Regions from separate parts of the Homo sapiens genome. Here all the other regions are linked to region 3. Evidence: promoter capture Hi-C in 16 types of primary human blood cells and fetal thymus (Javierre and others, 2016). All regions are on one chromosome and are shown on one strand. Each heading gives the region's core, a stretch centred on a gene start or on the middle of the fragment in contact. The rest is flanking DNA. Distances are from core to core; before and after follow the strand shown. Region 1 has its middle 58 kb from the start of N4BP3. Region 2 has its middle 23 kb from the start of FGFR4. Region 3 holds the start of TMED9 (transmembrane p24 trafficking protein 9). Region 4 has its middle 8.9 kb from the start of MXD3. Region 5 has its middle 18 kb from the start of N4BP3.

Region 1 (2,700 bases), core at 85-2,584, 460 kb before region 3:
GCAGTTTGTCAGAAAGTCATGAGTGAGCATGGCAGGGCTGTGTGGGAAGTGTGTGTTGGACAATACGACACACTGGCTTCTCACTGCTGCTGCCTCTGACCAATAATACATGTTTTCAGAAGGCCTTGTTTTCATGTACACAATGGACTATAATTGTAGGGAAAAGAAAGAGAGATCAGACTGTTACTGTGTCTATGTAGAAAGGGAAGACATAAGAAACTCCATGTTAACCCGTACCCTGAACAATTGCTTTGCCCTGTGATGCTGCTAATCTGTAACTTTGCCTCAACCTTGAGCTCACAGAAACATGTGTTGTATGGAATCAAGGTTAAAGGGATCTAGGGCTATGCAGGATGTGCCTTGTTAACAACATGTTTCCAAGCAGTATGCTTGGTAAGAGTTATCGCCATTCTCCAGTCTCAATAAACCAGGGGCACAATGCACTGCGGAAAGCCACAGGGAACTCTGCCCTGGGAAGCCGGGTATTGTCCAAGGTTTCTCCCTATGTGAAAATCTGAAATATGGCCTCATGGGATGGGAAAGACCTGACCGTCCCCCAGCCCGACATCTGTGGAGGGTCTGTGCTGAGGAGGATTAGTAAAAGAGGAAAGCCTCTTGCAGTTGAGATAGAGGAAGGCCACTGTCTCCTGCCTGCCCCTGGGAACTGAATGTCTCGGTATAAAACCTGATTGTACATTTGTTCAGTTTTGAGATAGGAGAAAAACCGCCCTGTGGCGGGAGGTGAGACATGTTGGCAGCAATGCTGCTTTATTATTCTTTACTCCACTGAGATGTTTGGGTGGAGAGGAACATAAATCTGGCCTACGTGCACATCCAGGCATAGTACCGTCCCTTGAACTTATTTGTGACACAGATTCCTTTGCTCACATGTTTTTTTTTTTTAAGGCTTGTTTTATTTTCATGGCTGATCTATGTAATCACAGAGGCCAGTATGTACAGACAAAGGGGGAGCTTTTATTTCTTGGTCTCTTCCTCCTTGGATAAAGTCTTGATGAACTCCTCCTTCTTGGCCTGGAGGCGCTCTTCAGGGCACTTGCCTGCTTCCTTGGTCTTAGACCTGCGGGCCTCAGCCTGGTCAGCCAGGAGCTTCTTGCGGGCCTTGTCTGCCTTCAGCTTGTGGATGTGTTCCATGAGAATCCGCTTGTCTTTGAACACATTCCCCTTCACCTTCAGGTACAGGCTGTGATACGTGTGGCGATCGATCTTCTTAGATTCACGGTATCTTCTGAGCAGCCGGCGCAAAATCGTCATTCTCCTCATCCATGTGACCTTCTCTGGCATTCGGGCATTGGCTGTACCCTTCTGCTCACCTATGGCCACGTGCCTGCCCTTCCGGCGGGCCAAGGTGTTTTTCCGGCATCGAGCCCGGGAATGGACCGTCACAGGCTTGCGGATGATCAGCCCGTCTTTGATGAGCTTCCGGATCTGCTGACGGGAGTTGGCATTGGCGATTTCATTGGTCTCACTGGGGTCTAACCAGACCTTCTTCTTGCCACAGCGGAGGACACTAGAGGCGAGCCTCTTCTGAGGCCCGAGCATGCTCATGGCTGCGGCCGCAGCAGCGAAAGGAAAGGCTCACAGGTTTTCTTGCTGACACCCTGCTCTCCTACCGCATTCCTCTTGCTGAGACACTGAAAATGGTAATCAATAAACTGAGGGAACTCAGAGGCCGGTGCCAGTGCTGGTCCTCCGTATGCTGAGTGCCGGTCTCCTGGGCCCGCTGTTCTTTCTCTGTACTTTGTCTCCGTGTCTTATTTCTTTTCTCAGTCTCTCATCCCACCTGACAAGATATACCCACAGGTATGGATGGGCAGGCTACCCCTTCATATAATTACTGCAAAGGTGCAGTGAGACCTATTTTTTTTTTTTTTTTTTTTGAGACAGAGTCTCACTCTGTCACCCAGGCTGGAGTGCAGTGGTGCGATCTCAGCTCACTGCAAGCTCCACCTCCCGGGTTCACGCCATTCTCCTGCCTCAGCCTCCCGAGTACCTGGGACTACAGGAGCCCACAACCATGCCTGGCTAATTTTTTGTATTTTTAGTAGAGACGGGGTTTCACCGTGGTCTCGATCTCCTGACCTCGTGATCTGCCCACCTCAGCCTCCCAAAGTGCTGGGATTACAGGTGTGAGCCACCACGCTCGGCCTTTTTTGTATTTTTAATAGAAACAGGGTTTCACCGTGTTAGCCAGGATGGTCTTGATCTCCTGACCTCGTGATCCACCTGCCTCGGCCTCCCAAAGTGCTGGGATGACAGGCGTGAGCCGCCATGCGTGGCCCAGATTAAATACTTCTTTAGAAGATGGACTAGAAATGGGTCATCAGAAATTGTTTTTACTTACATATGAAGAATTCTAATCTTCAAAAAATTTTAGAACTCAGTCAGAACTTGAGAACTTCTTTCAGTAGGTGCTGTGATTCAATAACCAGAATTCTGCTTTACTTTATAGTTACACAAGTATTTCTGTCATTTTCCTACTAAATTACATGAAGGGGGTTGTCTGCTTATGAGCTGCACCACCGAGCAGCATGCCTATCAGTGAGAAGGTGCCTGACAATTCTCAGTTGAAATGTCCTGACGAAGTTCCCCCAGAAATTTGTGAGTACTCAACTGTATTAAAACTAAATATACTGTTTTTCATGACAAATAGTCACTATTTAGTAAAATGATTACTGTGCT
Region 2 (2,722 bases), core at 72-2,571, 480 kb after region 3:
CCACGCCCAGCTAATTTTTTGTATTTTTAGTAGAGACGGGGTTTCACCATCTTGGCCAGGCTGGTCTTGAGCTCCTGACCTTGTGATCCCCCGCCTCAGTCTCCCAAAGTGCTGGGATTACAGGTGTGAGCCACTGCGCCCAGCCCCCTTTTATTTTTATTTTTATTTTGTTTTTGAGAGGGAGTCTTGCTCTGTCATCCAGGCTGGAGTGCAGTGGCATGATCTCGGCTCACTGCAACCTCCACCTCCTGGGCTCAAGCGATTCTCCTGCCTCAGCCTCCCGAGTAGCTGGGCTACCTAGTAGCCCACCCACACCCAGCTAATTTTTGTATTTTTAGTAGAGACAGGGTTTCACTGTGTTGGCCAGGCTCATCTCAAACTCCTGACCTCAGGTGATCTGCCCGCCTCAGCCTCCCAAAGTGCTGGGATTACAGGCATGAACCACTGTGCCCGGCCTCCCTTTTATTTATTTATTTATTTATTTATTTATTTATTTATTTATTTCAGACAGGAGCTTGCTCTGTGTTCCAGGCTGGAGTGCAGAGACTCAATATCGTAGCTCACTGCAACCTACTGGGCCAGATCCTGAAGGCCTCCTCTGCGTGTTAAGGAGCTTGGACTATTCCAAGCAGAGACTGTTCTCTCTGTAAGAGTGATCCTACCACCTCAGCCTCCCAAGTAGCTGGGACTACAGGCACGTGTTCTCGCACTCGGCTAATTGTTTTATTTTTTTTGTAGAGACAGGGTCTCACTGTGTTGCCCAGACTGGTCCTGAACTCCTGGCCTCAAGTCATTCTCCCGCCTCAGCCTCCCAAAATGCTGGGATTTCAGGCGTGAAATGCCATGCCTGGCCTAGCAAATCCTCTTATTCTGCATCTGGCCTTCCACTTTTCTCTATCCCCTTGGCCAAGCTGGGAGCCTCAGAATGTAGCTGTGCAGAGGCGCTGCTGGCCCCAGACCAGAGAGTGGGAGACAGCGTGGATGGTCACTCTGTGGATGCTCTGGGGCTCTTACTTCTGTCTTCTTGGGAGGCCACACATGTACTTTGGGGGGCTGTTCCGGTTCCCGGCTCTGAGTCTAGCCAGGCGCTGCAACAATCCCCTCCACTGCCTGCCCATCTGCACCAGCCCCTTGCTTTCCTGTCTTGTCACTTGCCTTAGGATAAACCCACAGCCTACGAGGCCCCCTGGGTTTGGCCTCATCTGGCACCGTGTTCCCCCTCACTCTTGTGCTCTGTCCACGGAGCTGGATCGGATGCCCTCACCTTCGCCCTGCACCTGCCTGCCTCCAGACCTTTGCAGAGACCATTCTGTCTGCCTGGAATGCATTTCCTCCCACTCTTCACAAGGCCAAGGCTCTCCTCCTTCAACTCAAACATCATTCCCTCAGGGAACCCTTCCCGGAGCCGGAGCCGGAGCCGGAGCCGGCCAGGATCAGTCCCCACCGTCAGCACTCACAGCTGCAGGCTGTTGACCTTCAGAGCTCTGCGTTTCATTACAGTCAGCATTTTCCTGGGTGTTTGTTGAATATCTGTCTCCATTTGTAGATACGAAACTCCTCAGGGCAGGGGCCAGGTCTGTCTTCACTGGGTATACCCAGTGACTAGAAGAGTACCTGGCCTATGGTAGGTGCCCAGTAAACATTTCTTGATTTACTGAGCCTTTCAATTCCCAACACTCCACAACTCCACACCCCTGCACGCCTTCCTCTATCTGGTCAGTGCTCAGTGCTTCGTTCTTTTTTTTTTTTCTTCTAATACAGAGTTTTGCTCTTGTTGCCCAGGCTGGAGTGCAATGGCACAATCTCAGCTCACTGCAACCTCTGCCTCCCGGGTTCCAGCAATTCTCCTGCCTCAGCCTCCGGAGTAGCTGGGATTACAGGCGCGTGCCACCACGCCCGGCTAATTTTTGTATTTTTAGTAGAGACAGGGTTTCACCATGTTGGCCAAAATGGTTTTGATCTCCTGATCTCGAGATCCATCCGCCTCGGCCTCCCAAAGTGCTGGGATTACAGGCGTGAGACACTACGCCAGGCCTCATTCTCCATTCTTATCACCCTGCCCCCCAGACAGTCGTGCTAATAGTTTTGTGTGTGCGTTCTTGGAAAATGTGTGTTTTCCGTGTCATCATTTCGTGCAAGTGGCTTTGTGCTTTAGATCTCATTCCATTTCTTCCTCTTGCCTCTCAGCACGAGATTTCTAAGTCCCCCATGTGGCTCTGTGTCCACCGGGTCCTCCACACATTCTGCTGATCCGCCTTCCAGTGAGGAACCCCAGGCTGGATCCAACCCCTCCTCCTGCCTTCCCCACACGGTCACATGGGAGGATCTCTGTGTGTTGTGTGTGTGTGTGTGTGTGTGTGTGTGTGTGTGTGTGTGTGTTTGGGGGCAGTTATATGTTCAGGGCAACATTTCCAGGTCATAGGGCATGTGTGTATATACTTAGCTGAATGCTCCTAGACTTCGCTGGGACAGCTTCAGCCCCCAGTCCAGGAGAGCCTCTCGTCTCCTTGCCAGCACCTGGAGTTCTCCAGCTTTTTTTTTTTTTTTTTTTTGAGACGGAGTCTCTCTCTGTCACCCAGGCTGGAGTGCAGTGGGACGATCTCAGCTCACTGCAAGCTCCGCCTCCTGGGTTCACGCCATTCTCCTGCCTCAGCCTCCTGAGTAGCTGAGATTACAGGTGTGCACCACCATGCCTGGTTAATTTTTGTATTTTTAGTAGAGA
Region 3 (2,700 bases), core at 1-2,500:
GAGAGTCTGACATTAGGGTGGCAAGTGACTGACTGCTCTTGGGAAGGGCTTTCCTTTATAGCTTATGCCCTTTCAACTTTTTTGGTGTGAGTTGTTTTTTGGGGGGTTCTTTTTTGTTTTTGTTTTTGAGACAGAGTCTCACTCTGTCGTCCTGGCTGGAGTGCAGTGATGCTATCTCAGCTCACTGCAGCCTCAGCTTCCCAGGTTCAAGCAATTATCGTGCCTTAGCCTCCCAAGTATCTGGTATTAGAGGTGTGCGCCACCACACCCGGCTCATTTTTTTTTTTTTTTTTTTTTGTATTTTTACTAGAGACGGGGTTTGCCAGACGGAGGTTGCCCAGGCCGGTCCTGAACTCCCGGCCTCAAGTGATCCACCCGCCTCGGCATCCCAAAGTGCTGGGATTACAGGCAAGAGCCACCACACCCCGCCATGAGTTTTTTAACGAAAAGTGACAGAAGGTGAGAGCTGAAGGGTTTTGCCGTTCGTTTTAATATCCTTACTTGGGAAGATTAAAAGCTGCTCATTTTGTGGGGAAAGTATCATGTTCTGTGAAATCTTAAAGTCTAGATGACTTTAAGAGTTGACAAAACTCTTTGATTTTTATCACCACAATTAATCCGCCCATTTCACAGACCGGGCGGGGTCTGCAAGTCAGCAGGATATTCCCACAACATCAACTGTCTCTCCCACTTTAGCAGATGCAGGAACTAGAAGAGGAAGTACCGGAGCCCGCCTAGCTGAGAGGCTGGCGGAGAGGAGGGGGGCGGTTGGCTCACCTTGTCCTCTGGGTCCTTCACCTCCACAAACATGCCAAGCCCCGGGGTGGCCGGCTGGTACTCCTCCCGCTGCTTGTCATACAGCTGCGTCCGGTAGTTTCCTTGAGGGAAGCAGGGCGAGCCCAGGTCAGAGGAGCGCGAGGTGGCATGGGTTCCGCGACCGCCTGGGCACGGCGAGGCCGTCTCCTCCCGGCTCTAGAGAGCTGACTGTCTCGCATCCCCCGCCCCAAGACCACGGTCACGTTCCAAACTCGCCCCTTCCTCCCCGCCCCCGCACCTATGACCATGGTCTCGTCCGGGATCTCCTCAATAAAGCACTTCTTCTCCGTCTCTCCGATGTGAAAGTAGAGCGCGCTTCCGCGCGTCGCCAGCCACAGCACCAGCAGGAGGGTCCGCATCACTCTACCCAGCCCGGTTCCGGGCCGGGGCCGGACGAGCAGCACGCCCAGCTCCACAGCCATCTTGCTCCACCTGCCTGCGCAGCCGCAGCCGGCCGCGCCACGTCGCCCTGCCGCCGCCGCGGTGCCTGCCGGGACCGCGAGTTCCGCCGGGTGGACCACAAATCCCGAGATGTCCCGCGGCCCTGGCGCGGCAGTACCTGATTGGGGCGCGGCTTTTACCTGAGAGAGAGCGGGTGCCCTAGAATAAAAACTTATTTCCGTTGACTCTCTTCATGGCCTGGCAACTGACGATGGTTACCAGCTTTTCATAGATGAAACTGAGGTCGTTTGTTTGAGGTTGCGGAGCGAATTGCGAACAGAGACAGGATTCGAACCTAGGATCCCTGACTTTCCTTGGCACAGCATCTACCAGTCTTGATTTGCTTCTACCTTTAAAAATGAATTTAAAGAGAACGACCAAATAATGCACAAATGTATTATCAAAAAAGATTAAAAGAAATAAAAGGCAAGGTCTCCCATTACCACTTCTTTGTCCTCATACCCTGTCCACTCCTAAATCGGGTGTTACCCTCTCAAGCATTTCTCCGATCACACACACACACAAACACACACACAGCCTCTGCTGCCAGATCCCAACTGCAATGGCTCGTTACTAGCAATTCTACAGAAATAGAAAGGATCATAAGAGAGTACTATGAGCAAATATAAGCCAACAAATTGGATAACGTAGATGAAATGGACAAATTCATAGAAATGCAAAACTGACTCAGAATAGATAATATAATCTGAATAAACCTATAACTAGTGAGGAGATTGAATCAGTAATTTAAAAAAAATCATCCTTACTTAATATAGTTAAGATGTCAATACTATCCAAAGCAATCTACAGATTTAATGCAATTCCTGTCAAAATCCCAATGACATTTTTTGTAGAAACAGAGAAACTCATTCTACAATTCATATACTCTCAAGGGATTTCGATTAGCCAAAACAATCCTGAAAAATAAGAATAAAGCTGAAGAACTCACACTTCCTGATTTCAAAACTTACTTCCAAGCTTCAGTCATCAAGACAGTGTGGTACTGGCATATAGACAGACATATAGACCAATGGAATACAATAGAGAGCCCCAAGATATGCCCTCCCATATATGGTCAAATAATTTTTAACAAGGAGACCAAGCCCATTCAATGCGGGGAGGAGGGACAGTCTTTCTAACAAATGGTGCTGGGAAAACTGGATATCCACATGCAAAAAAGTGAAGGTGGTTCCTTCTCTAACACCATAGATAAAAATTCACCCAAAAAGACCCACAACTTTTAAAATCCCAAAGCATAAAACTCATAGAAAACATATGGCAAAGGGTTTACCACATCGGATTTGGCAACAGACTTCCTGGATATGACACTAAAGGCACAGGCAACAAAAGAAAAAATAGACAAATTGGACTTTATGAAAATTAAAACATTTTGTGCATCAAAAGACTCTGTAGCAGAGTAAAGAGGCAACCCACAGAATGGAA
Region 4 (2,700 bases), core at 126-2,625, 270 kb after region 3:
CATAAAGGACTCAATATAGGGGTTGATAACAAAATGGATTCACCAAATTAGTTGAAGATCAACTAATTTGAAGATCAGATCAAAGATCAGAGGACCTTGGGAGGAAACACAGAGATGGAGATTTATAAAGAGATTTATAAAGAGGAGATTTTTAAAGAGAATGGGCCCGGCATGATGGCTCATGCCTGTAATCCCAGTACTTTGGGAGGCCGAGGCAGGCGGATCACGAAGTTGAGATCGAGACCATCTTGGCCAACATGTTGAAACCCCGTCTCTACTAAAAATACAAAAAAATTAGCTGGGTGTGGTGGCGTGTGCCTGTAGTCCCAGCTACTTGGGAGGCTGAAGCCGGAGAATGGCTTGAACCTGGGAGGCAGAGGTTGCAGTGAGCCGAGATCGTGCCACTGCACTCTAGCCTGGTGACAGAGCGAGACTCTGTCTGAAAAAAAAAAAAAAATTAAAAAAATACAAAATTAGACGGGCATGGTGGTGCGTGCCTGTAGTCCCAGCTACTCGGGAGGCTGAGGCAGGAGAATCACTTGAACCTGGGAGGCGGAGGTTGCAGTGAGCTGAGATCGTGCCACTGCACTCCAGCCTGGGCAACAGAGTAAGGCTCTGTCTCAAAAAAAAAAAAAAAAAAAAAAAAAAAGAAAAGAAAAAAAGGAATATGGAGAATATAAATGGAAATCAGCAACCAAAAGATAACTGAAAAAATCCTTTGTATCTGGAAACTAAAAACATACTACCAAATAACATTCGGACTTAAGAATAAATCATAATGAAAGCCCCACACTAAAAGAGGAAAGCTTCAGGACCTGGCTAAAGGAAGAGAGGTTTGTGGCTGGAACAAGAACATTTGCAGGGTGCCCGGATCCCTTGAAGAGGACACCCTGACACTGACCGTGGGAACAGCCTACGCTACACATGCAGGCGTTCAGGTGGAGTACTCTTCCCATACTCCAGAGAACAGGCTGAAACTTTTGACTCAGCAAAGGCCAGAAGGAAAAGGGGAAGTGGTTTATCAAGTGCCTGCTGGAGCATATAACATCCCAGACACTGAGCACTTGCATACAAGTGACCGACATGGCTGGCCCCACCGCTTGCCAGTGCTGCCTGGTCAGTGGGTTAGACTCATCCCATGACGCTAGCAGGGTAGTTGCTCTTGTTGTCTTTGGAAGGACCTTTTCTCTCCTTTTCTTTTTTGAGATGGAGTCTTGCTCTTGTTGCCTAGGCTTTAGTGCAATGGCACAGTCTTGGCTCATTGCAACCTCCGCCTCCTGGGTTCAAGCGATTCTCCTGCCTCAGCCTCCCGAGTAGCTGGGATTACAGGCATGTGCCACCACACCCGGCTAATTTTGTATTTTTAGTAGAGACGAGGTTTCTCCATGTTACTCAGGCTGGTATCAAACTCCCGACCTTAGGTGATCCACCTGCTTTGGCCTCCCAGAGTGCTGGGATTACAGGCGTGAGCCACCATGCCCGGCCATGGAAGGACTTTTTCAAGAAACCGATGTGGTCAGTTTTCCGTATACCTCCAGGTGTTCTGTTCTGGCGTCTGGGTGCTCCACCAGCACGGAGAAAGACGAGTGCCCTGTGGCCTGAGTCCCAGGCACTGAACACTCTAGCCTGGGCAGCAGCTCCGGGAGGACTCAGCTTCCCGAGCACCGCCCTCAGGTTGGGAATCCACAGCAGCACCCACAACACACCACACAGTGCACCAGCCATCAAGGGGGCGCACAAATGACCAGGGCTGCCTTCCAGGCAATGGCCACTGCCTGGTGGATCCAGTTAGTAAGCCAAGAGCAGTTTGAGGACATACCATCTCCATCTGGCATCAAACCACCCTGCTCACTGCGCCAGTTGTTGTAAGGACACCTTGGATTTGTTGTCCTTAGATATGATGTAACAGACACAGAAATGACTGCCATGGTGGGAAGAAGCTTATACTCACAGTTCCCTAGAAACAGGCGGCACCGCACACTAACACGGGCCACACGGGGAAGCACCAGTGTTGGTCGGGGGCAGAGGGAGGGAGGGGAACTGTGGGGCAAGAGCCTTTATTGTGGTTTGCTTAGGAAGGAACCTGAGAGGCAGAGTGAGCAGGTCTAGGATTGCCTAGCTTGAATAATTTCAATGGGTTTGGGGTAGGATGTCCCTAGTTGTCCAGTCTCTGGGGGATAGTGGTGCAGCGTGTAAGAGCCCAGTAAAGGAGGTGGTTGGAAGGTATGGGCTCTGGATTGGTTAGTATGAATATGAAAGGCACGGCACGCTTGCAGGTGAGTGAGTGAGTTACTATCTCTAGGAATTGGATGAGAGGATGGAGTATGATGAACCTTTGATTCCTGGAGGGCCATGAGTTCACTGTGGTATGGAAATGCAGCTGTGCTGTGATCAGTTAGTGGAGGCAAAAATTAATAATGAATTTTAGAAATGATGGATGCAACTCCCAAGGAGTTAGTTCACTGGACGTATAAGGAAATGCAAAGTAACTAGAAACAAGCTAAATATACCATCCTATTGTTCTCTGTAGCAACAATGAAGGCAAAAGATGGTGATAGGGCAGATCCTGAGATTGGGCCAAGCTTGGATTGTGGCTGGTCTGAGCTACAGCTATTCCCAGGGCCACTTTTGAGGGGGAAAATTATGCTGAAACAACAGTGAAGATGGTTAGAATGATTCACAAGAGAGTGGGGAAAACAA
Region 5 (2,790 bases), core at 50-2,549, 500 kb before region 3:
ACGGAGGAGGGAGGACCGACATGAATCCATGTGAAGAGTGGCCACGGAGGAGGGAGGACCGACATGAAGCCATCTGAAGAGTGGCCACGGAGGAGGGAGGACCGACGTGAATCCATCTGAAGAGAGGCCACCGAGGAGGGAGGACCGACATGAAGCCATCTGAAGAGTGGCCACGGAGGAGGGAGGACCGACGTGAATCCATCTGAAGAGAGGCCACCGAGGAGGGAGGACCGACATGAAGCCATCTGAAGAGTGGCCACGGAGGAGGGAGGACCGACATGAAGCCATCTGAAGAGTGGCCACGGAGGAGGGAGGACCGACATGAATCCATGTGAAGAGTGGCCACGGAGGAGGGAGGACCGACATGAAGCCATCTGAAGAGTGGCCACGGAGGAGGGAGGACCGACATGAAGCCATCTGAAGAGTGGCCACGGAGGAGGGAGGACCGACGTGAATCCATGTGAAGAGTGGCCACGGAGGAGGGAGGACCGACGTGAAGCTATCTGAAGAGTGGCCACGGAGGAGGGAGGACCGACGTGAAGCCATCTGAAGAGTGGCCACGGAGGAGGGAGGACCGACATGAATCCATCTGAAGAGTGGCCACTGAGGAGGGAGGACCGACATGAAGCCATCTGAAGAGTGGCCACGGAGGAGGGAGGACCGACATGAAGCCATCTGAAGAGTGGCCACGGAGGAGGGAGGACCGACATGAATCCATGTGAAGAGTGGCCACGGAGGAGGGAGAACCGACATGAAGCCATCTGAAGAGTGGCCACGGAGGAGGGAGGACCGACATGAAGCCATCTGAAGAGTGGCCACGGAGGAGGGAGGACCGACATGAAGCCATCTGAAGAGTGGCCACGGAGGAGGGAGGACCGACATGAAGCCATCTGAAGAGTGGCCACGGAGGAGGGAGGACCGACGTGAAGCTATCTGAAGAGTGGCCACGGAGGAGGGAGGACCGACGTGAATCCATCTGAAGAGAGGCCACCGAGGAGGGAGGACCGACGTGAAGCCATCTGAAGAGTGGCCACGGAGGAGGGAGGACCGACATGAATCCATGTGAAGAGTGGCCACTGAGGAGGGAGGACCGACATGAATCCATGTGAAGAGTGGCCACTGAGGAGGGAGGACCGACGTGAAGCCATCTGAAGAGTGGCCACGGAGGAGGGAGGACTGACGTGAATCCATCTGAAGAGTGGCCACGGAGGAGGGAGGACTGACGTGAATCCATCTGAAGAGTGGCCACGGAGGAGGGAGGACTGACGTGAATCCATCTGAAGAGTGGCCACGGAGGAGGGAGAACCGACATGAAGCCATCTGAAGAGTGGCCACGGAGGAGGGAGGACCGACATGAAGCCATCTGAAGAGTGGCCACGGAGGAGGGAGGACCGACATGAAGCCATCTGAAGAGTGGCCACGGAGGAGGGAGGACTGACGTGAATCCATCTGAAGAGTGACCATGGAGCAGGGAGGACCGATGTGAAGCCATCTGAAGAGTGACCATGGAGGAGGGAGGACTGACGTGAATCCAGCATGTGAGCCCGGGAGATGGCACATCCAGAACCAGTGGGTGCAAGGCCCAGGGCAGCCGAAGTCTTCTCCACCTAAGGGGTTTCGGCAGAGTTGTCTAAAACTCAATACTCCGCCTTACTACAGACCGTGTTCCCCACCAGAAGAACTGAGCTCACTTACGCAGTCAACAAATACCACCTATGGGCTGTCCCCACTTGGATGTTGGCTGGGCTCCACAACTTCATAGGTCCTGAACAAGATGCTTGATTTCCCTCTTCGAACCTGTCTTCCTCACTGCAGTCTGTGCTACGACCATCCACTCCATAGCGGAAGCCCAAACCCGCTAGTAGCCTCAATTTCTTCCCTCGCCTCGTATCACACCCCTCCCATCCCATTCATGAACAAACTCTATAGATTCTCTCTCCAGATATGTCTCACATCCCTCCACTTCTTTTGTCTCTGCAGCCCTCAGTGCAAGCGCCTGCCCCCTCCCACCTGGCTTCCTGCAGGAACCACCCAGCTTGCCTCCTTGCTTCCTGTCTCACTCCACCTAGTCCATTCTCTACACAGCAGCCGAAGTGGCTTTCTAAGCCTTGAATCTGGTCATGTTCCTTCTCTGCTTCATTGTTTCCAGTGGCTTCCCGCAGCCCCCTCTTTACCATGTCCTATCAGGTCATAGCTGCCGTGGCTCCATCCTGACTCTGACCTCATCTTCTCCCACTGTCCCGTTATTCAAGCTCCAGTCACACTGGCCCACCGCAGGGCCTTTACACTTGCTGCATCTCTATTGTCCTTACCTAGGGTAATTTTTCTCTAGAGCACAGGCCTCATGGAACATACTGTGAGTCAGCGCTTCCCAACCTTTTTTTTGAGATGGAGTTTCGCTCTTGTTGCCCAGGTTGGAGTGCAATGGAGCAATCTCGGCTCACCACAACCTCCGCCTCCCAGGTTCAAGCAATTCTCTTGCCTCAGCCTCCCGAGTAGCTGGGATTACAGGCATGCACCACCACGCCCGGCTAATTTTGTATTTTTAGTAGAGACGGGGTTTCTCCATGTTGAGGCTGGTCTCGAACTCCTGACCTCAGGTGATCCGCCCGCCTCGGCCTCCCAAAGTGCTGGGATTACAGGCGTGAGCCACTGCACCCAGGCTTCCCAACCATTTTAACATCAGGACATTCAGAAATTTTACTTCATTTGAGGCTGGGCACAGTGGCTCACACCTGTAATCCCAGCACTTTGGGAGGCTGAGGCAGACAGATCACTTGAGGTTGGGAG

The links. The method cuts DNA at HindIII sites, captures the fragments that hold promoters and counts their contacts. A CHiCAGO score of 5 or more calls a contact.
Region 1: a contact is called between a fragment that was not itself captured here and the fragment with the promoter of TMED9 in region 3, in 5 of 17 cell types (naive B cells, total B cells, total CD4 T cells and 2 more). The highest score is 9.1, in naive B cells.
Region 2: a contact is called between a fragment that was not itself captured here and the fragment with the promoter of TMED9 in region 3, in 1 of 17 cell types (neutrophils). The highest score is 5.1, in neutrophils.
Region 4: a fragment that was not itself captured here is called in contact with the fragment with the promoter of TMED9 in region 3 in 2 of 17 cell types (naive B cells and total CD8 T cells); the score reaches 5.9 in naive B cells.
Region 5: a contact is called between a fragment that was not itself captured here and the fragment with the promoter of TMED9 in region 3, in 1 of 17 cell types (total B cells). The highest score is 5.6, in total B cells.

Annotation. Positions count from the first base shown.
Region 1 is chr5:178,054,470-178,057,169 of GRCh38, reverse strand. It overlaps the pseudogene FAM153CP and the pseudogene RPL19P9. Among named protein-coding and RNA genes, the nearest start is that of N4BP3, 58 kb to the left of the region's middle. The HindIII fragment of the contact is 2,854 bases long and covers 1-2,700 here.
Region 2 is chr5:177,108,745-177,111,466 of GRCh38, reverse strand. No RefSeq gene overlaps it. Among named protein-coding and RNA genes, the nearest start is that of FGFR4, 23 kb to the right of the region's middle. RefSeq lists an enhancer at 734-1,233. The HindIII fragment of the contact is 6,039 bases long and covers 1-2,722 here.
Region 3 is chr5:177,590,753-177,593,452 of GRCh38, reverse strand. It overlaps TMED9 (transmembrane p24 trafficking protein 9), which reads right to left and starts at 1,250. Exons shown (of 5, transcript NM_017510.6): 1 at 1,055-1,250; 2 at 778-878. The coding sequence starts at 1,238. RefSeq lists an enhancer at 1-45. The HindIII fragment of the contact is 2,414 bases long and covers 1-2,237 here.
Region 4 is chr5:177,319,423-177,322,122 of GRCh38, reverse strand. No RefSeq gene overlaps it. Among named protein-coding and RNA genes, the nearest start is that of MXD3, 8.9 kb to the right of the region's middle. RefSeq lists enhancers at 1,184-1,683, 1,684-2,185. The HindIII fragment of the contact is 1,134 bases long and covers 809-1,942 here.
Region 5 is chr5:178,093,778-178,096,567 of GRCh38, reverse strand. No RefSeq gene overlaps it. Among named protein-coding and RNA genes, the nearest start is that of N4BP3, 18 kb to the left of the region's middle. The HindIII fragment of the contact is 8,743 bases long and covers 1-2,790 here.